4 separate regions of the Homo sapiens genome follow, and regions 1, 3 and 4 are each linked to region 2. Evidence: promoter capture Hi-C in human tissues and cell types (Jung and others, 2019). All regions are on one chromosome and are shown on one strand. Each heading gives the region's core, a stretch centred on a gene start or on the middle of the fragment in contact. The rest is flanking DNA. Distances are from core to core; before and after follow the strand shown.

Region 1 (5,262 bases), core at 2,048-4,547, 520 kb before region 2:
GACACCAAGGCCATGCCAGGAGGCTCCTGCAGGTCACCTGAACGTGGGATCCCACCCTGCCCCTAGCCTGTGGAAACACGGGATTCATCATCTGGCTTCCACGCCCCCACACCAAAGTGTCTGGTGGCAGAACCACACCCTCAACTGGGCTAACCTGAGCCCATCCATGGTTCTGACTCCCCACATGGTCCTCCCTCCTCGGAAATCCACACGTGAACCTGGTTTTCATGTCCCAACTTATAAATGCAAGTTCAGTCTAGGCTTTGAGGGCTCCCGACACTCTCTACCTCCTGCCCCCAACACATATACACTTTCAGTCTGGAACAGCTGTTGGGGCAAATTGTGCAAAATAGATTCTGTGTATCCATTCCATCTATACACCCCAAGCCTCTCTCCTTGTCTCTTTTACACACACACACACACACACACACACACACACACACACACACACACACACAGAGTTCAGGCAGGGAGGGGACGTGCCTCTTGTCGGGCACAGTTCAGCACAGTCAGAGCTGTACCTATAATCCAGGTTGATTCCTCAGGTTATAGATGAGGAAATGAGGCCCAGTGAGGTGAAATCTGTTATGGGTCAGTAGCTCACTGGGGCTGAGACTGGACTCTGACACAGAATGAGCTTTCCTATGTGCCATGTGACTTCTAGCTAGCAATGCATGAAATGTAGACATGACAGACAGACAGAAGGACCCAGGAGTGCAGCAGTGCAAGGAACTCTCAGCAGCTGCCATGAGGGCAGTGCCCCAGGGGTAAGCTTGGAATGTCCCCATCTCTTCATGCCTCTGGTCTCACCTTAGATTGCTGGGTCCCCAAGAGTGTCCACTCTAAATTTCTCCCCTGGATAATATCTGGGTTCGAAATCTGCCAGTGGGGCCTATGAGATCCATGCCCCCCAGGGCTTCTCCTTCTTTGCCCTAGCCCCTAAGTCTCCTGCCCACCCCTGAAGGAAGAGAGGCATCAACAAGAAACACAACAGCATGACCCCCCTGCACACACACACACACACACATGCATGCACGTGTGCGCACACACACGGCAGGTGGCATTGCTTTCCGGGGGGGGCTACCCATCTGCTCAGGTGGGCGGCCTGTCCTAGACAGCTGCCCAGGGGAAGAGTGGAAAGGGGACAAGGAGGCAGGAACTGGAGGGGGCCCAGCCGGCAACTGGATGGCTGGGCCAGCAGGAACATCCATGAGGGCCTTCTGGGGAAGTGGCAACAGAGGGACACTGTGCAGGACTGGCACTGCCTCTAAGGCAGGGACCCAGAGGCCAGAGAGGGCCCATCTCCAGGCTTCTGTTTGGGAGGACTGGGGTCACTTATGAGACAGGACCAGCAGGGGCAGTGGGCCACAGATATGGCTCTTCCCACTTCCCAGGGGCCAGTATGTAGGAATGAGGGGTGGGAGCCCCTTGTGCCCTCACCCCTAATCTCCCACCTAGGCAGGTGTCTTCACTGGAATGGAAATGGATGGATGTTGATGAGGGGTGGGTGGAGCTATCTCCCAACACACCTTTAAACACTTGGGTGTCCTTGGTGTGGAGTGTGGGGAGAGGACATGGGAGTTTGAGGAGAGAGAGGGAGAAGCCACTTGTCCCCATCGGTTCTCTGCCATGCTCCCGCTCCTGTCTGGGCTGGAGACTCCCCTGCAGGGCGACCCAGCCCTCCTAGCACAGGCTGCTCCCTTTGACTCTGGTTTGCTTATGCTGGGGACATGCTGCTGGGGTTTCACAGTCACAGGGCTTCCACGGAGAGGGTCGTGGAGGAGACAGAGTCAGATACAGAGAGACACGAGGAGGGACACAGGTGGGGATAGGCACGCCCAGGAACAGTCACTCAGAGGTGAGGGACCCCAAAGCTTGGGAGAGACACCCACAGACACAAGGGGGATGATGGGGCAGCAGGGCTGGGCTTCCAGGAGGGGTGTTGCTGTGGAAGAGTCTCACAGGCCCAGCATCCTCACTCGGGGCACGCGGGACCACCAGGAATAGACCCTACGCCACCCATACCAGACCTCAGGAAGCCGGGAAGGACGTGCAGGACCCTCCCCCTGCCTCCCCCTCCAAGCAGAGCACCGGAGGAAGCGCCTCTGATGACGAGGAGGGGAGAATGTGACTCCAGCTTTTCGGGAAGCCCCTGAAGACAGAGAGCAGGAGGGGACCGGGTGGGAGGGTGGGGGGGTCCCCGTGAAACCCACGGGCCTGGGCCTGTGGCCTCCGGGTCTCCCCCTCCCCTTCCTGGGTCTGCTCCACCGACGTCCCGCGTCCGGACTCTCCTCCCTGTGTCTGTCCTCCGGATCCTCTGCCTTCCTTCCCTCTGTCTTTCCTCCCCGTCCTGTCAGACGGTCCCGGTCCCTCGTCTGCGGCTTTCCAGGTATCTCTGTCCCTCTCTCTTTCCCGGTCTCCCTCTCACCGCCCCCCCCAACCCCGTTTTTCTGCGGCGTCCATCTGTCCCCCGTCTCCTCCTCTCTCTCTCCCTTATCATCGGTGGGACCATCCCTCTTGATTCCCCCTGATCCACCGGCCTCCTCCTCCTTCCCCGGGCGGTGCGGGCCTCCTCTCTACCCTTCCGCATCTGTCTTTTCTCCGGGCTTCCTTTTGTCTGCTCCCTCGGCGCCGGCTCTTCTGTCCGTCTGTCCCGCACCTCCCGCCCCGTCCCGGTCTCTCGGTCCGTCCCTTTCCCCGTCCACCTCCTGGCGTGTCCCCCTCCGCCCGCCCCGCCCCGCGCCCCCTCTCCCAGGAGGAGCGCCCCTCTGCGCTCGGGGTCCCGCCCCGCCCAGGTCCGCACGCGGGGTCCCCGGGAACCGCCGCCTTTCTTCCTCGCTCCCGCGCTCGCGCTTCCCCTCCCGGGGCCCCGGCCCACCCACCCCTGGTGCGGCCCCGCCGGACTCAGGAGCCCCGGCCGCCCGGGCTGCGGGGAGGGGGCGCCCCGGGCCGGCCCTAGAAGTTACTTTGCAAAGAGGCAGGGGGCGCGGGGCCGCGCGGGGCGAGCTCGGGATCCGCGGGGAAGAAGCCCTCCGGGACCGCGCCTCGGCCGCCCGAGCCCCCCGCGCCCGCCGCCCCCCACCTCGGTCGGGGGCTTACCTGGGAGCCCGCTGCCCCCGGCCAGCCGCCCGCGTGTGCCCAGGGCCAGCAGCACGCACAAGTGCCAGCGCACGGCCGCCGCGCCCATGCTCAATGCGGGCCCCGCTGGGCGTGCGGGCGTGCGGGGCGCGGGGACCCGACCGACCGGCCGCTCCCGCAGGCGCTGCTCGCTGCTCGCCGCTCCGCCACCGCTCGGGCTCCCGAGCCGCCCAGCCAGCCCGGCTGATGAGCTGACAGCGCGCGCTCATTGGCCCGTGGCGTCGGAGGGGCGGGGCGTCGCCCAGGGCCGGCCAATGGGCGCCGGCCTCCGGCCCTCCGAGGAAGAGGGGGGCTCGGGCGTCGTCGGGGGGACCCTTCCCCTGGGGCGGGCGGCAGGTGGGGGGTGTGGGCCTGGCCGGCCGGCTCGCTAGGCGCGGGGTCTAGGCCAGGCTGGGGCTGCTTGGAGGCTGCGCCCTCCCCTGCCCGCGGCGCCCCGGCCCCCGCCGTCGAGAGTGGACGCCCCTCTGGGGTAACCCCTCCCGGCCCAGAGGCAGCCTCGGGGGCGGGGATCCTGCGAACCGGGGATCCCGTGAGGTCGCCCGCCATCCGTGGGCAGTGAAACGCGCCAGCGCGCAGAGCAGACTCGCCTGCGCTGCCGTTTGCTGGACGTTTCTTGAGCACCTACTGGGGACCGAGTGCGGGCGAGGCAGCAGCGAAGGAACCGGGAGGGGAAACCTCGTGAAGATCACTTGAAAATTGACGTTCAAAACAAACGAACTTTTTAGCACTCGTCAAAGGACAGTGGCCCGTCAGTGTGCTTGTCACGGGGCGGCCGCAGGACCTGCGTCTGGAACCGGGCGGGCGCCCGGGACGGACAATGCCGCTTGGCGGTCGGTCCCGCGGGAGGCCCCCGCACGGGGCTAACCTCGGCCGGCGAAGTTCGCTGCCCGGAATGCGAGGCCGAGGCCTCCCCCTGTGACAGACCGGGCGGGGCCAGGAGGAGGGGCAGGGCGGGCATCCCGGTCCGAAGACCCAGGAACTGCTCTGGCCTGGCCTGGGGTCTACACCTGACGCCTGGCGAGGGTTGGCTTCGGGTCTGGTCCCACCGGGCCTGGGAGGGACGGGCGGCTGGAAATAAATGGCCCCTCTCAGTTCCAGGCAGGACGCTTTAAGGGACGAAAGTTCAGCAAACCCCAAGGCCCATCTCCTTGACAACCACCAATAAGAGCTCCTTTTTTCTTCTCCTGCTCTCCAGGCCCAACTCAAAGACAACTCTTTTCTCTTTTTGTCCACTCTGCCTGCACCAGTTTGAGCCCCTCCACACCAGCTCCCTTTCCTGCCCCCAACACACACACGCACACACACACACACACACACACACACACACACACACACAGTCACACATGCAGACACATGCTCTCACGTGCAATCACTCAGACACAGCCTCACACCCTCACACCCTCCAGCACACACACGCTCACACATGCTTCTTCACGCCCTCATCCAACCTACCGTAGACGAGCTCCTCAGCCCTGGAAGGTTAAATCTGTGTCCAGCCAGCTCTCACACCCCATCTGACTTCACATCAGCTTGTGGCACGGGCCTGGTGGCTGAGGCAAGGGGTCCCCTACATGGGGATCGGGGGTGTGGGGGGTCCAGAGATGCCCAAAGAAGAAGGAAGCGCTGCCTGTTGTCTCCACTGAGCCCCCACCCCATTGCTCCAGACATTTCGGTCTGCACGGCTGCTCCTGGCTGCTGGTTTAATTTGGGAGATGCTGTTGACAGGCTTTATTTTGTCCCCGTCAATTGTGTAGCTTTGAGTTTCTGCAGGGGGTGGGGAGTTCCCTCAGAACCACATATTATCTTGTGCATTGGGCAACAGGGCAAGCAGTGTGAGGTGGTGGGGGAGGTTCTTCCAGGGGGCTCTGACCTACTTGAAACAATGCCCTCTAATGTGCCTGGTCATTAGGCACCCCCCCGCCCAGCCCTAGCCAGGTGCCCCTCAAGCTTGATGGCAGCAAGAGAAGCTTCTTCCAGGCTCCATCCCCACAAATCAAGGCAGGAATGGAGGCAGGTTACTCTGTGACCCCTCAGCCCAGAGGTAGCTGTCCCTTGTACCAAGTTGTAGTCCCCAGCCTGCCCCCAAGCGATTGCTCAGGTCAAGTTTGCTGGTGAATTATCACC
Region 2 (5,090 bases), core at 1,608-4,107:
ACAGAAAGGTCCTTCTCAGAAGACACAATGGGCTCCTACTGTCTGGATCACGGTTTTACCTGGCGCTGTGCAGCAGAACTTTCAGCTGTGATGGGAACACTCCATATCTGCGCCACCCAATACGGCAGCCGCTAGCCCCATGTGGCTACTGAGCACCTGAAACATGGTGATGCTACTGAGGAACAGAATTTCCACTTTTATTTCATTTTAATTCATTAGATGTAAGCAGCCGCCTGTGGGCAGAGGGTCCTACGCTGGAGAGCACAGTCCTAACCCGCCATCTAAGCTAGAATGTCGCAAGCACAAAAAGAATCCGAGCAAGCAGCACGGGGTTGTGGGAAAAAATACCGGACAGGAAGCGAAGGCAGGATCTAATTATCATTGCCTTAGCCACCAGAAAGCCCCCACCACCCCTTTGAACCCCAGTTTCTCCATCAGCAGAGGGTGGGAAGGGGCTGACAAGGGACCAGGCCCTTCCGGCTCTGACCACCTGCAAGTTCATTAGGATCTCCTACACCTGGGCACTGGAAATCCAAGGAGGCCCGTGGGTTCCCTGCCATGGCAGGTGAATGGGGCACCTGTTAGTCCTGGCTACTTGCCCCAACCCCAGCACCAACCATGTCTCCCCCATCAGACTGAGAGCTCACTAAGGACAGGCACCAGATGGGGCCCTCTCGGCTTCCCCAGCCCCTAGCAAAGCATCTGGGCACAACAGGTGTTCAGGGCTTAAAAGTCAGCATTAACCACGAGCCTTTCCAGCGTGTGTCTGGACGTGGGCTAAGCGTTCTCACCCGCCATTTTGCTCATCCTCACAGCCACACATCAGCGGGCCGAGGTGGTCTCTTCTCCCTCCGCAGAGACCACAGCTCAATGGGATTCTATGATCTGCCCAGGGTCACTCTGCTGGTAAGCCGCAAAACTGCATTCAAACCCAGGACTTCCAACTCCGAAGCCAGGTTCTTAATGTGTAAGCACTGATGCCTGCTACAAATCCATCCCCAGTAGCAGATGGAAGGAAAGGAAAAGAAAATATGAACTGGGCTACCAGAAGTCCACTTGGAGGGGCCTCAGAGAAGTGACACAAACCTCAAAATCCCTAAGTGGCTGAGACTTCCAGCATTTTAAAGCCTCCAAGAAAGAAGGCTAGGTCCCCCTCCTTCTTGGGCCCTCACGGTTTTCCAAGGGCAACGGAGCACCCATAAGGCAGGGGAGAGGCTGGCCGTGGACCGGGAGACCTAGCTAGACCTGACCTCTGTCCCTCAGCAACTGTGTGACTCCGAACAATTTGTGCCTTCTCTGAGCCTCTGAAAAAAAGGTGTAAGAGTCCCTCACAGATTAACAGCGATAGAGCACTTGGCCCGCAGGACTTAATGAGTGGCCACAGAAGCCAACGACACGCTTAGCCATTCCTAAAGCATTTTAGGTCCCACCCCATGCGGCGACTGGCATGTGCTCAAGATAGCAGCCCATCGAACGCTCTGTTCTCCAACCAACACCCTCCACTGAGAGTCCCTACTCCAATCTTCCTCAGAAGAATGTCAGAGACCTGCCCTCAGGTGTCTGGAACTCCATACAGCTACAACAGCCAAGCCTACAGCTTTTCCTGAAACTGCCCGACTGCTGGTCCGGCGTGACCTTAGAGCCAGACACCTTCTAAACCACGCTGTGATTGCCTCAAATACAGTGGCAACAAGGAAATCCCAGGGCATGTTTACAGAACAGGAAAGCTGCTACCTCCTTTCCCTAAAAACCTCAGATGGGGTACTATACAATCTCCTACCTCAGGTCTGGAAACAGACCAGCCTAGCTTTAATTCCCAGGTCAGCCACTCACCAGCTGAGTGACCTTGGACCAGCCTCTTCCCCTCTCTGAGCCTCTGTGCCTAGACTGTAAAGTGGGAATGACCACCACTAGCTCACACAGCTGTTATTGTGAAAGTGACGTCAGCTAATGCTGGGAAATGTGAATGCCCCAGGTCCTGCCTCGGTGATGGAGGCAGCCCTGAAACAAGAGAATGTACAAGCAAGGCACTCCAGGCGGGGACTGGTCCCATCCCCCACCCGGAGCCCAGGCTGGAAAGGAGGGACGTTACGTTTCCACGCTGAAAGCCCTGACGCCCATGTTATCTCCCTTCCCAGGTGAACACCAGGACTTTGCACTCATCAAAGGTTGGGCAGGATTCAGGAACAGAGAGGTTGAGTGACCTGTCCAAGGTCACACAGCCAGCCAGGTAAAGGGAGAAGCAGGGATGGGTGGCGGCCCTGGGCCCATCCTCCTGCAGCGCCGGCCAAATAGGCTCCATCTCCACGGAAGGGGCCGCTCCCGAAGGTCTCTGACCTTGGTTTCCCCAGATGAGAACCAAGCCCCTTCCCACCCCCACCCCACCCCACCCCGCCCCGCAGGGATCCGAGCATCGGGAGAGCGGTGGGCACGGCAGGGGCGGAGGCCAAGGGCGACCACCCGGCCCAGCAGAAGCCCCGGGCGCGGGCGCGGCGTCTACGCGGCCGCGCTGCAGGGCTGGGGCATGGCGTGGCGGGCGCGGTCGGCGCGGGGCTCACCGGACTTGGGGTAGGTGACGATCCACACGTCGCTGGGCCGCACCGGGAAGTTGGCGATCTCCTCCATCTTCCCGCGGCAGAAGGGCGGCAGCCGCACGCCATGGAACTCGAAGTACTTGCTCTCGAACTCCCCCGGGGTGCTGGGGGTCTCGGCCTCGCTCTCCGCCATGCCGCCGCCGTCGCCGTCGCCGCCGCCGCCTCCCGGCTCGCAGCCCGCACGCGCCCGCGCCCGCGCCCGCGCCCGCGCCCCGCACACGCTCGCGCCCCACCGGCGCGCGGCGGCAGCTCCGCAGGCGTGACGTCATGGCGCCGCCGACGCGCGGCGGAGGCTCCGCGGGTATGACGTCATGGCGCCGCCCGGCACGCGGCCGCGGCGCTGCACGGGCGTGACGTCATGGCGCCGCGGAGCCGCGTCCTCCCCGCCCCGCCCCCGGCCGGGGTCACCCACCCGCTGCCGGGGCTGACAGAGACCCTGGCCCGCGGTCTGCAGCCTCCTCAGTCGTGCGTGCGTTCATTCCGCTCATAGCTTCTGTCACTCAGCAAGCGCTCAACACAGACGCATGAGATACCCTGGCTGGAAGGCCCTGAAAGGTAGTCGTCCATTCAACACGTGCTTAGCGCGCTGCTGATCTGTGCCAGGCACTGGGCCAGGGCCCCGACACGCGTCAGGGTAGAAGCAAGCAGAAGCCTGGCCCTGTTGGAGCTTACATTGGTAAATAACCAAGATAATTTCAGGTAAATATTAGGTCCTATTAAAAATATGCGTCTTCGCCAGGCGCGGTGGATCACGCCTGTAATCTCAGCACTTTGAGAGGTCGAGCACGGGCGGATCTCCTGAGGTCAAGAGTTCGAGACCAACCTGGGTAAATGGTGAAACCGCATCTCTACAAACATACAAAAAAAAAAATTAGCAGTGAGCTGTGAGCTTGCACCACTGCACTCCAGTCTGGGCAACAGGACGAGATCTTCTAACAACAACAAAAAAAAAGTATGGGCCACCTAGTCCAGCCAAAAAAACAAAGTGCTTTTTTTTTGCTTTTTTTTTTTTTTTTTTTTTTTTGAGATGGAGTCTCGCTGTGTCGCCCAGGCTGGAGTGCAGGGGCGCGATCTCAGCTCACTGCAAGCTCCACCTCCCGGGTTTACGCCATTCTCCTGGCTCAGCCTCCCGAGTAGCTGGGACTACAGGCACATGCCACCATGCCTGGCTAATTTTTTGTATTTTTTGTTTGTTTGTTTTAGTAGAGACGGGGTTTCATCGTGTTAGCCAGGATGGTCTCAATCTCCTGACCTCGTGATCTGCCCACCTTGGCCTCCCAAAGTGCTGGGATTACAGGTGTGAACCACCTCGCCCAGCCAAAAAGTGCTTCTTAATATCCCATGAGTAGGGGAGGGGAGTGTTGGATTGCAAATTCCAGGACCCCAGATCTATGGAGAAAAATTACAAAAATATACATTTAGTAAGGCACTTCTTGTGCAAACTATAATTTGAGAGCAACCGAGTTCTAGAGATCTCAGTGCAACCCCTTGCCAGTCATGCACTCAACAGACATATATGAAGCACCTACTAACATGCCTGGGGAAGCACAAAGATGAAAACAACACAGCCTGCTCTCATTCTCTGCAGCCGAGCATCATCAGCTGTGTAAAGGAAAAGAATGATTCCTACCTCTAAGTAGTGTAGCCAGGAAGATGGAAGGAGTTTACACCAACAAGAATCTGGAGCAGAGTGGCTGGACGGGACCTATTCCTACTCTCTCCTTCTTACTGTAGAGTGAGACACGTGCATTCTGACACCAAAGACATACACATGGGCTGAGAAGCGCAGGCCATGTGTACATAGCAGACAGAGAGAGGAAACAGCAATTAATCCTGACTTGGGAAGCTTGTAGATGTCTTTCCAAAAAAGAAAGAGGACATTCCGAGCACCCAGCCTTTATTCAGAATAATTAGGCCAATGGCAAAAGGGCATCTAGCCAAAAGCTAGAGGGATTGAGTGAATGAATGAATATCCTGATGTTTCAGGTGAGGGTTCTCACTGTGGGAGAAGGAAAATGTAAGTGGGGAATGCGAGAAGGCAGGGAAGAACTCTATGGTATTGGATTGGAATTGGAGGTATTGACATGAGTTTATGATATTTTAAAATTCCTATTTCTTATATTTGCTGGAAAAGCCTTTAGGCAGTGATATCTCAATAATACTAGGCATACCCACTGCCCAGATCTTTGCTAAATACTTCCCTCACCAAATGAACCTGGGGTTTCTTGGAGAAAAAGCCAACTCCAGGGCAAGGAAAGTACAAGATGAGCCTAAAATGTCTTGTTGAGTCTTGAACTCCTGCAAGTTCAAAAATGTTGGGAATAGGTCAGAAGGACACAGGGTATAACATGAAAGTATTATCATAGGTCAAATCGGAAACAATTTGAGCATGTTAGACAAAAATGGGAAAAAACCCACGTACCCAACAGTAGAATAGATAAATTGCGATATATTCATACAATGGAATACAGTAATTTTTTTAAAAAAGGAATGTAA
Region 3 (5,788 bases), core at 1,564-4,063, 740 kb after region 2:
AGCTCCAGGGCTTGGCCTGCCCTTGGCTGGGGAGCCTCCAGCTTTCCCGGTCCCTGGCCTCAGGGGGTCAGAACCTGGTGGGACTTTTGCACAGGCTGAATAGGGGCAGTCCCACCAACACAGCAGCTGTGTTTCTTTTTTTTTTTTTTTTTCCGAGACGGAGTCTCGCTCTGTCACACAGGCTGGAGTGCAGAGGTGTGATCTCGGCTCACTGCAACCTCTGCCTCCCAGGTTCAAATGATTCTCCCGCCTCAGCCTCCTGAGTAGCTGGGATTACAGACACATGCCACCAAACCCTGCTAACTTTTTTGTATTTTTACCCAGGTTTCACCATGTTAGCCAGGATGGTCTTGATCTGCTGACCTCAAGTGATCTGCTGACCTGGGCCTCCCAAAGTGCTGGGATTACAGGCGTGAGCCACCGTGCCCAGCTGGCAGGTGTTTTTGTGTGTGTGCTTTTTTTTTTTTTTTTTTTTTTTTTTACCACAGGTGTTCAGTGAGTGTCTCCTTCACACTAAGGACTGTCCCAGAGTGTTGGTGAGGAAAGCCACAGCCAGCCCTGGCCTTGAGGAGCTTGTAACTCAGTGCAGGGGACAGACAGAGGAACACACAAATGTCACACAGAATCTGCACCGTGGTGAGTCCCACAGGGACAGTAGGTGTCTCCAGGAAAGCAACTTTGACAGAGCAGTCACAAAGGGGTCTCAGAGGGGGAGGCCTCTCAGCTGAGACCTGAAGGCTCAGAAGAAGCAGCGTGTGCAGAGAAAAACCACAGCAGCCGGCACATGCAGAGAAAAACCACAGCAGCCAGCGGTCACACGCATGGCCGGAGCATCGGCAGAACCGGATCACACAGGTCAACCCTTCATTTCGCAAAGGGCGTCCCCACCCGCCTTCTCACAGTAATGCTGTGGGGAACGTGTTTTTAATCCCTATTTTACAGATAAGAAAAGTCGAGGCTCTGGGAGGTGAAATGACCCCCACAAATCTCAGCACTCTGGACCCACTCCCAGGACTGTGTCCCTCTACGTGCCACCAGCCCACTCTCTCCAGGGACCCCCAGACTTAGCCCAGAAGGGTTTCTCTTCCTCTCCCTTGGCCACTTGGAGAAGCACCAGCTCAGCCAAGCCATGGCTGGGAGAAGGACTGGAGCGTCCGGCCACCTCCTCTCTCTGGGGCAACTGCAGCAGCCCCTGGCCAGCCCTCCCTGCGTCAGCTCAACCCTGACCCAAGGCAATGGGGGCAATGGGGAGGGTCTTCTCCAAACAGAAGCGCTGCTGGCAACAGAATTGAGCTGAACAGGGGAGACATGGCCCCATCTCTGCACTCACACGCTGGGGGAACTTGGCCAAATTCTGTCCCCGGTTTCCCATGCTAGATAACAAACTACCACAAACTTCACAGCTTCACACAGCCCTCGTGAGCCCGCAGCTGTGCAGGTTGAAAGTCCAGCCTCAGCATGACTGCGTCTCCACCCAGGGTCTCAACAAGGCTAAAATGGGCCGGGTGCAGTGGCTTACGCCTGGAATCCCAGCACTTTGGGAGGCTGACGTGATAGGATCACTTGAGCCCAGGAGTTCAAGGCCTGCCTGGGCAACATAGCAAGACCCCACCTCTAGTGAAAATAAAAATCATCCAGGCATGATGGTGCGTGCCTGTGGTCCCAGCTACTCCAGAAGCTGAGGCAGGAGGATAGCTTGAGCCCAGGAGGTGGAGGCTGCAGTGAGCTCTGATTGTACCACTCTACTCCAGCCTGGGCAACAGAGCCAGACCCTGTCTCTCAAAAAATAAATAAATAAATAAATAAATGTAAATAAAATGAAAGAATGATAATGGTGATGATGATAACAATAAACAAAGGCTATAATCAAGGTGTCTTCCCGCTGTGTTCGCATCTGGAGCTCAGAAACCTGTTCTAGCCTCAACTGCATGCAGTAGAATCCAGGTCCTCCAAGCATGGAATTGAGTCCCCGTGTTCTTGCTGGTCAGAGCCTCCCTTAGTTGCTAAAGGTGCCATCCCTCTTTGTCATGTGGTCCCTCCATCTTCAAAGCCAGCCTTGGAGAAGCTCTGACATGTCAAATCCTCCCACACTTTGAATCTCTCCCGTCTCGAGGGTCCAGTCTCTTTACAGTCTCACCTGCTCACCTGATCAGGTCAGGCCCACCAAGATGAACCACCTTTTTTTTTTTTTTTTTTTTTGAGACAGGGTCTCAGTCTGTCACGCAGGCTGAGTGCACTGGTGCAGTCATGGCTCACTGCAGCCTTGGCTTCCTGGGCTCAAGCAATCCTCCTGCCTCAACCTCCCGAGTAGCTGGGACTACAGGTGTGCAGCAACACACCTAGCTAATTTTTTAAATTTTTTTGTAGAGATGAGGTCTTGCCATTTGCCCAGGTTGGTCTCAAACTCCTGAGCTCAAGCAATCCTCCTGCCTCAGCCTCCCAAAGTGCTGGCTGGGACTCCAGGCATGTACCACCACGCCCTGCCTAATCATCCTCTCTCTTAAGGGCAACTGATTGGGGTCTTAACTGTATCTGAAAAACCCCTTCACAGCAGCACCTAGATTTGTATCTGACTGAATAACTGGGAGGAGGATGCATCCATCAGGGGCGGAAATGTGGAGGCCATGTCAGCATTCCACCCCATACATCCCCCTCTGAGGGGATGCTAGACCCTCAAGATCTGCCCTCCTTCCCAACCTGCTTTGCAAATGCGCAAAAGCCAGATGCCAGCATCTACAGTCAGCAAATGCCCCCCCCCCCCACATCACTTTGTATCTCTGTGGAACTCCCCTCATTTCTTTTGAGGGGTGGGAGAAAACAAGTCCCAACATTTAGAACCCTCCAGAGCTCTCAGCAGCCATGAAGCTCCAGACCAGCTGGAAATGGTCTCTCCCACTCCAGCATATGCTCAGGCCCTTGGAGCAATTGTTACATAGCCCAAGCAGAACCTTCTTTAAGGACTAATTTTTTTTTTTTAATTTTTGAGATTGAGTCTTGCTCTGTTGCCCAGGCTGGAGCACAGTGGTGCTAACATGGCTACTGCAGCCTCGACCTCCCTGGTTCAAACGATCCTCCCACCTCAGCCTCCCAAGTAGCTGGGACTACAGAAGCCGCCACCATGCATGGCTAATTCTTTATTTTTTGTAGAAACAGGGTTTCACCATGTTGCCCAGGCTGGTCTCAAACTCCTGGGATCAAGTGATTGTCCCACCTTGGCCTCCCAAAGTGCTGGGATTACAAGCATGAGCCACTGTGCCTGGCCAGTAATTTTAAAGTATGATATATGGCCAGGCACAGTGGCTCACACCTGTAATCCCAGCACTTTGGGAGGCCGAGGCTGGCAGATCACTTGAGGTCAGAAGCTTGAGACAAGCCTGGCCAACATGGTGACACCCTGTCTCTACTAAAAATACAAAAGTTAGCTGGGCGTGGTGGCGTATGCCTGTAGTCCCAGCTACTCAGGAGGCTGAGGCAGGAGAATGGCTTGAACCCAGGAGGCAGACGTTGCAGTGAGCCGAGATCTCGCCATTGCATTCCACCTTGGGCAACAGAGTGAGACTCTGTCTTTAAAATAAATAAATATGAGTTTGCTGAGGCTGCCATAACAAAGTACCACAGGCTGGGACTTAAGCAACAGAGATTTATTTCCTTACACTGAGATCAAGGTCAGCAGGGTTGGTTTCCCCTGTGGCCTCTCCCCTTGGCTTGTAGATGCCACCTTCTCCCTATGTCCTCACACGGTTGTCCCACACTAATATGTCTGTGTCCTAATCCAATAGGACTGGTGTCCCTATCATCTTCTCTTCTTATAAGGACACCGGTCCTATTGGATGAGGGCCTGCTCCAGTGACCCCATTTAACTATAATCGCCTCTTTAAAGACCCTGTCTCCAAATGCAGTCACACTCTGAGGGCCTGAGGATGATGACTTCAGCATAGAATTGGTGGGGCCTGGGGACACAGTTCAGCGCATGGCACACAACCCCTCATTGTTCCAGAAATCTCTAAAGTGCAAACGAATGTTCAGTTCTTATTACCGTTGGCTCTCCAACAGCTGCAATCGAGGGTGCTCCCAAGCAGGCCACAGATGCAGAAAGGTTCCCTTACAAACAGGCCAGCACAGAAGGCTAAGGATCCTCCTTTTTCAAGGAGGAAAAAAATGGTTTTTTGTGGTTCACACATAAGGAGAACTCACAGACTCAGTTTCACAACTTTAACCATGAGTCACAAGTTAGCACAGGACACAAAAACCCACTGGGCGGCTGAAGCGGCTGCAGAAACGCGGAGCTCCGCGAGCCCCAGAGACCTCAAGGGGCTGCTCTCTGCTCCAGCCGCACAAGATGCATTTCGGGAGTGATTTTCACTCATTGAGATTCAACAAGATCAACATAGAGGACCCTGCCCGCGATGGAAAAGACACACAATATACACAGGTGGTGAGGATGAGACCGGGGCGCCCTCCCAAGCCCACGGTCAGGACGGGCGGCCCTCGAGCCGACCAAACCAGAATCTTGGGACCCATGATCAAGCGGTGGGTGTTGCTAATGCTGAAGATAGCAGGATCCTCAAGGCAAACAGACCCACACAGGCAAAAAACAAAAAGGCCCAGATTCCCCGTGTCTGCCACCCAGCAGGGAGCCCGGGGGGTGCACTGAAGCCGCTTCCCCCAGAAATGCAGCAGCCGGGCTCCAGAGGCACGTGTCAGAAACCACACACATACACACACACACGTGGTACATGCCACATATCACACACATACACCACATACATCATACACACACCACACACATCACATACCACACATGTCACACACATACACCACATACACCATACACACACCACACACATCACATGGCACACACCACATATCACATGCACACACCACATACACCATACACACATACACCACGCACACACCACAGGCCACACACCACATATCACACACATACACCACACACACCATACACCACACATTACACACACATGCACCACACACATATACCACACACATACCATATAGCACACATATACCATACACACATCCCATGCCACACACCACAAACCATGTGCCACATATCACATGTCACACACACACACCATGTACCACATACATCGTACACCACACACACCCTGCACACACACACCACATATCACATACACACCACACACACATCACACATCACACACACATCAAACACACACACACCACACACACACACACCATATACCACACAGATACCACACACACACACACATACACACATACACAGCCCTTCTCTTGCTGCATGAGTCCACCCTGGGGAGGAGGGGCATGAGGGCACAGAGAGCCCACAAGATGCACTTCTGAGGCCACACACACAGCCCCATGGTCTGGAGCCTCAGCCTCATGGGCATGTAGCGTGTGTGCGTGTGTGTGTGTGTGGTTTCTGACATGTTTGCCCCTGACTGGAGCCTGGCTGCTGTATTTCTGGGGGAAGTGCCTTCGGTGGCCCCGCATGCTCCCTGCTGGGTGGCAGACAGGGGGAATCTGATCCTTGCCAGAGGATCAGATCCAGCAGTGGACGATACTCAGAGAAGAAGGTTTGCAGACTCAAGGGAGCCCAGACGCAGAAAGGACGGCTTGCCCAATAAAACACACAGCAGGTGTTTAGAGGAAAAAACAAGCCCCAAGATCGCCAAGCATCCTGGGTTCACTGCTTAAGATGGAAGAGGTGCAGCTCTCCTCTGTGAGGATGATATTTGCAAAGGTTGCCAAAGGTCTGCAGACACTCAGCGCCAAAAGGCAGGGC
Region 4 (5,513 bases), core at 1,437-3,936, 720 kb after region 2:
ATAATAAGAGCTATTTATGACAAAACCATAGCCAATATTATACTGAATGGGCAAAACCTGGAAGCATTCCCTTTGAAAACTGGCACAAGACAAGGATGCCCTCTCTCACCACTCCTATTCAACATAGTACTGGAAGTTCTAAACATTCATTGTTTTAAGGCCTACGTGTGTCCTCCTTTGTGACTACAGCCCCAGGATATTTCCAGAGTCTCGCCCAGCAAAGGCCCTCCTGGGGGGACAGCGCTCAGTCCCCTCCTGCTGCCAGCAGCATCTCTGCCGTCTCTCCAGCCTCCTCCTGAGACTCCATGTGGGCATCCCGCAGCAACCTTTCCTTTTCTCACCGTTTCTCCTGCCCACTCTCTGCTCACAAATCCCAATGTCCCTCTCCAGCCCAGACCCCAACGCCCCACCCGTTGATCCAGCAGACCTACGGTGTTCCTCCTGAAACCCAGCCTTCCCCACCACCTCCTCCCCTTCCCGCTCTAGCTCCCAAGCTCCTCATCCCGCTGGTGCCACTGCCATCCTTCCCTCTTGCAGCGAAAAGGTATTTGGCACCTTCCCCAGGCCAGGCCCTGAGGATACCCCAGTTAGCAAACCCAGGTCCTAGGAGAAAGTGGCGACCGACATTAGCTGGAGGCTTGGAGTCTGGATGAACCCTAAATAGACTTCAGGCACAGGCTGCTCCCAAAAGCCTTCCTGCTCCCAGAGTGGGGCAGGGACTTCTCTGACCTCCACCAGCCCCTGTATGCTCAGTCATACCATGTGGCTGCTCAGGAGTAGACAGCCCAGGGCTGGTGAGGTGCTCGGGAAACTCATGTAGACCCGATTTCTTCTAGCTTCCTGCTCCACCACCCTCAAGAGCATCTCTGTCTTCATGGTCAGAAGATAGCTGCTGGGCATCCAAGCATCACACCCACATTCCAGGCAGAAAGAAGAGAAAAGCTAAAGGCTGAAAGTTACAAACCATCTCCTTGGAAGGCTTTGTCATTTTATTAGAAGACAGAAGCTCTCTCCAAGGAGTTCCACCCACCTTTCACTGGCCAGAGCTCAGTCACACGGTTGCACGTGTCTGGCTGTAAGGGAACCTGGGAATTTGAAAGTTTTGTTTTCCAGTCTGTACATTACCGGGAGGTAAGGAAGGGGATTGGACTAGGTCATTCAAAGCCACCATCTCTGGTTCAAGCCTCCCATCGCAGCTCTCGGGAGGCTGGTGTGGACACCTTCCTGTTCCTATGCACCCTCCGCCCCTCTCAAATCCAACTCCTTTCCACCTCCTGCTCTTTGATGCCTCTCCTCCTGCTTCCTGACTGGACTTCCCTTCCGCTGCTACCCGCTCACTGTCCAAACCTAAAGCATCACTTAAGACTCAGCTAAAAAGCCACATTCCCACCCCAAGGTGGACCCCCACTGCTGGCCACCTGCACACCTCTTACCCACCCACTGTGGTATCGTGTCCACTGCTTGCTTTTCCCACTGGATGAGCCCCTTGTCAAGTACAGGGACCATGTCTGGCTTGGCTGTGTCTGCAGCACCCAGCCAAGTGGCCTCGGTGAGCACTTGCTGAGCTGAGCCACTGATCGGGGCTGAGTCAGAGCCAGAAGAGATGGCGCCATTTCCTCCTCCGCCCTGATGCTCAAGGAAGCAGGGAGGGAGAGAACAGCCCGCAGGAGGAGGTCTGCTTGTGTTTTGATCTTGGAAATGAACAAGGATGGGCTCTCATTAATCAGCGGAGACAGGGACAGACGCCGCTGTTTGTTTCCAGTAATAACAGACACCCAATAATAACAGGACATTGGTGCTGATGACTCCTCTCCTCCTGTCATAGGCACCAGGCAGGCTGGAAGGACCTCAGTCACCTCTCACGGAGCCAATGGGGAAACTGATTATCCCAGGAGGCAAGTGACCCACTACGTCACTCAGCAAATCAGTGCACAGCCAGGGGTTGCACTTCTGAGGCTAGGACCAGGGTCGCGAGTGGGATAGGAAGGACGACGGGCAAGGACCTGTGCAACCTCCTCCTTCCTAGAGACCCTTGAAAGGTGAAATCTGCTTTCAATCACTCTGTGGGGTCCTGTTTCAAGACCCCTTCCCAGAGGACAAAACAAGGACATGGCCAGTGTTATAGGCTCCAAACATCATCGGCCCTCCCCCCTTATTTCCCTCTGCACCCCCCACGATGGCCCCAGGCAGAGCCACCAGCAGCTCTCCCGTACGCTGCTCCAAGCAAGCCCTTAATGGTCCCCGCCATCGCCCCCTACTGCCCCCGACCCAGCCAGACCACAGGTCTCCTCCCCATGCAGTGGCTGCTGTGATCCCAGCACATCCATCCCATCACAGTCCCGTGCCAGCCTCTACTCCAACCCTATACCCTGGAGATCCTACATGACATCCACCCCCCACCGCCCCCTCACCTGGCTCCAGGCACGCGCCAGCCTCAGGGTCTCTGCTTTAGCCGTTCCTGCTGCCTGGACACTTGTCACCAGGTACTGGGTATTGGCAGGGCCCCTCCCTCACCTCCTGCAAGTCTCTGCTCAGTGTCACCTTTCTGACCGCCCTGTCTAAACCTGCCAGCTCCACTAGCACCCTGGTGCTCCCACCCCATCACCTGCATCATGTTTCTTCCCACGACCCATTTCCAACCCCCTGCTCTATGCTTTATATAAATATGCATTTGTATGCAGGGTCATCTGATTCCCCCACCAGATCAGCCCCTCCACGGTTGGGGCAGGGGGGCGCGCTCTGTCTATCCTGATCTCAGACCTCACTCAGGCCCCCAGAACAGTGCCTGGCACCAAGTGGCAGCCCACATCTTCACTGACCCGACAAAAAAGGAGATGAGCAGAGGGTGCCTTTTGGAGACTGAGAGGTTGTAGGCCTGAGTGTGGTAGTTACTGGCACCTCTAAGAACCTGGCCAGCAAGCCCAGAGGCTGCCTGGAGGAGAGGGTTTTGGAGAAGGCTGGTGTGGAGCAAACAGAGCCTGCCATGTAGAGCTGTGAGTGCCTGGTGAGGTCAGTGAGGAGGAGGGCCTGGCACGTGGCCACAGGGGAGCAGCTGACCTCTGCTGGGCACAAGCTTTGGTCCACACCTGTATAAAGGGCTGCACAGTGAATCCCTATGATAGCTTCACAAATTATGCACTGTTACTGCCTCCCTCCTACAGATGGGGAAACTGAGGCTCAGAGAGGCCAAGCGATTCCTTCAAGGTCACCCAGATAATGAGGAGACCAAGATTCAAAACCATGTGAGCCCTGACTCTTCACAGCAGTTTATTATTTCTCTTAATAAATAACACATTCAGTAGGGTTTGGGTCTAAAAGTCACCGCTTTGCTAGTAAAAAACTTCCACAAATGGCAGGTGCAATAAAGATGTGGTGATAGAAAACAGAAACTCTAGGAAAAGAAAGAATGGAGAGGCCAGGTGCGGTGGCTCACGCCTGTAATCCCAGCACCTTGGGAGGCTGAGGCGGGAGGATCACCTGAGGTCAGGAGTTCAAGACCAGCCTGCCCAACGTGGCAAAACCCCATGTCTACTAAAAACACAAAAATTAGTTGGGCATGGTGGGAGGCGCCTGTAGTCCCAGCTACTTGGGAGGCTGAGGCAGGAGAATCCCTTGAACTGGGGAGGCAGAGGTTGCAGTGAGCCAAGATCAAGCCACTGCACTCCAGCCTGGGCAATAGAGCAAGACTCCATCTCAAAACAAAATAATTAAAAAAAGAAAAGCAGGACAGGAAAAAAGGAGAGAAGGCAGGAAGGAGGACAGACTTGGGGGAATCATAAACTGGCATTAATTACCTGAAGACAAAATGGTTAGAAGCCAAGTACCTGCCCTGCAGGCCATGGAGGGGTCGACCATCGTTAGGGGCTGGAAGAAAACCCGCCCACTAGGAATGAGATGCGGGTCCTCAGGGGCCCATGCTCCAGCAGCAGGAGCCAGGGGGTCGCCTCAGAGCCCTGTGGTCCGGGACAAGACAGCTTCCCTCGAGCACCCTGCCGCCATCACCATCTGACTTGGGTGTTGAGATGAAGTTCATCTCACCCTGTGTCCTGATGGCATCAGTCCTCAAGAGAAGCCGGGGACCCCATCACCGTCTGCCTCATAAGGCCCTGCATATCCCTCCCACAGCAGTGCCCCCCTCGGCTCCTCTCCCTTCCCCTCCATGACACCCCCCGGGCTTCAGTCAACTGTCAACAAAACCACCTACACCTTCAGACTCTGCCTGAGTTAAATCCAGTCCATCCCCGAGGACCCTGCCACCCCCATGGGGTCTGCTCTCAGGGGGCTGTTCCCTCGCCCACATCCCACTGGCCATGGCGGTCTCCTTGTCCCTCACTGTGGCTTCTATGCCATTCTCCCTCCCTCCATCCTGAACGCCCCACACTCACCCAATTCACGCTGTTGGACTTTGTCACCCAACACCCTCCCTGCAACAGTTGCGGCCCACCCCCAAGTCACACCCCTCCTCAGTCACTGTCACCCCCTCAACACCACTCCTGATAGAATTCCTGGTGACTGCCGTGGCCACAGGCTTGATCCTCCCAACAGCCTGGCCTCTGGGCTCCCGGGATCCCCTTTTCTCATAACCTTCCTCCACCTGATCTCAGCCACCCACTCCCAGGGCCAGGAGTGATTTCAAATCCCTAACAGCCAGCCTGGGAAGGGGTGGCCCTGCAGACGGGTGTGGCCATGCAGGTGTGCACCAACCCTGCGTTCACCCCGCCCTGCGCCTCACCATCCGCAGCCACTGAAGCACAGAGCTCCTTCTCAGTGGGAAGCACTCACCGCCAGCCCCACCTTTCCAGCTCGGCGCTCTCATGCCCCAGCCCCGACCATCTCTTGCCCCCTCCTTCCAAACGAACACAGCAAGGTGGGTGGTGTTCTGAGCTTCACTGCTTTCTGACCACAGAGGAGTGAACCCAGCTCCGGCCGGGGGGGTACGCAGAATGGAGAATGTGAGCTGCGGGGCTGAGCCTCTTCACAGACTCAGGAACTACAGACGGCATTCTGTGGGATCCCCACAGAGGCTCCTAAGTAGGTGTGTGAGCTGCAGTGTAGACATTTAACACCATCTCAAGACAGAAAACCAAGCCCGGTTTTCCAGCCCAGCTGGCATTTCCCCTGCTGTGCTCAGAAACAGGGGCTGCAGCCAGACACCCACCGTGGGCAGAAGCTGGAAGGTAAAGTGACATCCCAGAAAAGTGGGGGCCAATCACAGGGGTGCCCCAAAAGTCACCCATGGCAAGTGTGCATCATTTTGCAAACACTAAGGTGCGATTTTCAAAGAAAAACAAGAGAGAATGCATCCAAAGAGAAACTGGAACCAAATACGCCAATTCCCCAGAACAAATAGACGGTCAGGACCGAGCTGCCCAAGCGTGAGCGAGATGAAACGATGCCATGGCAACCGCGCAAGCAGACGGCACCGAAGAGAAGGGAGAAGGAAGGGGGATCTCATAAGCCAAAGTGAGGCAAACAGCCCAACCCAGACCGCGTCAGCCACAAACAGGTGTGGC

The links. The method cuts DNA at HindIII sites, captures the fragments that hold promoters and counts their contacts. A contact is called where the count stands out against the background at its distance.
Region 1: a contact is called between the fragment with the promoter of SCUBE1 here and the fragment with the promoter of SULT4A1 in region 2, in 4 of the 25 tissues and cell types used here (H1 embryonic stem cells, IMR-90 fibroblasts, mesendoderm cells and 1 more).
Region 3: a fragment that was not itself captured here is called in contact with the fragment with the promoter of SULT4A1 in region 2 in 1 of the 25 tissues and cell types used here (lymphoblastoid cells).
Region 4: a fragment that was not itself captured here is called in contact with the fragment with the promoter of SULT4A1 in region 2 in 1 of the 25 tissues and cell types used here (dorsolateral prefrontal cortex).

Annotation. Positions count from the first base shown.
Region 1 is chr22:43,340,075-43,345,336 of GRCh38, forward strand. It overlaps SCUBE1 (signal peptide, CUB domain and EGF like domain containing 1), which reads right to left and starts at 3,298. Exons shown (of 22, transcript NM_173050.5): 1 at 3,100-3,298. The coding sequence starts at 3,187. The HindIII fragment of the contact is 4,801 bases long and covers 1,324-5,262 here.
Region 2 is chr22:43,859,656-43,864,745 of GRCh38, forward strand. It overlaps SULT4A1 (sulfotransferase family 4A member 1), which reads right to left and starts at 2,858. Exons shown (of 7, transcript NM_014351.4): 1 at 2,559-2,858. The coding sequence starts at 2,727. RefSeq lists an enhancer at 674-1,173. The HindIII fragment of the contact is 9,350 bases long and covers 1-5,090 here.
Region 3 is chr22:44,599,784-44,605,571 of GRCh38, forward strand. No RefSeq gene overlaps it. Among named protein-coding and RNA genes, the nearest start is that of LINC00229, 23 kb to the right of the region's middle. The HindIII fragment of the contact is 5,775 bases long and covers 1-5,701 here.
Region 4 is chr22:44,581,718-44,587,230 of GRCh38, forward strand. No RefSeq gene overlaps it. Among named protein-coding and RNA genes, the nearest start is that of LINC00207, 15 kb to the left of the region's middle. The HindIII fragment of the contact is 4,820 bases long and covers 277-5,096 here.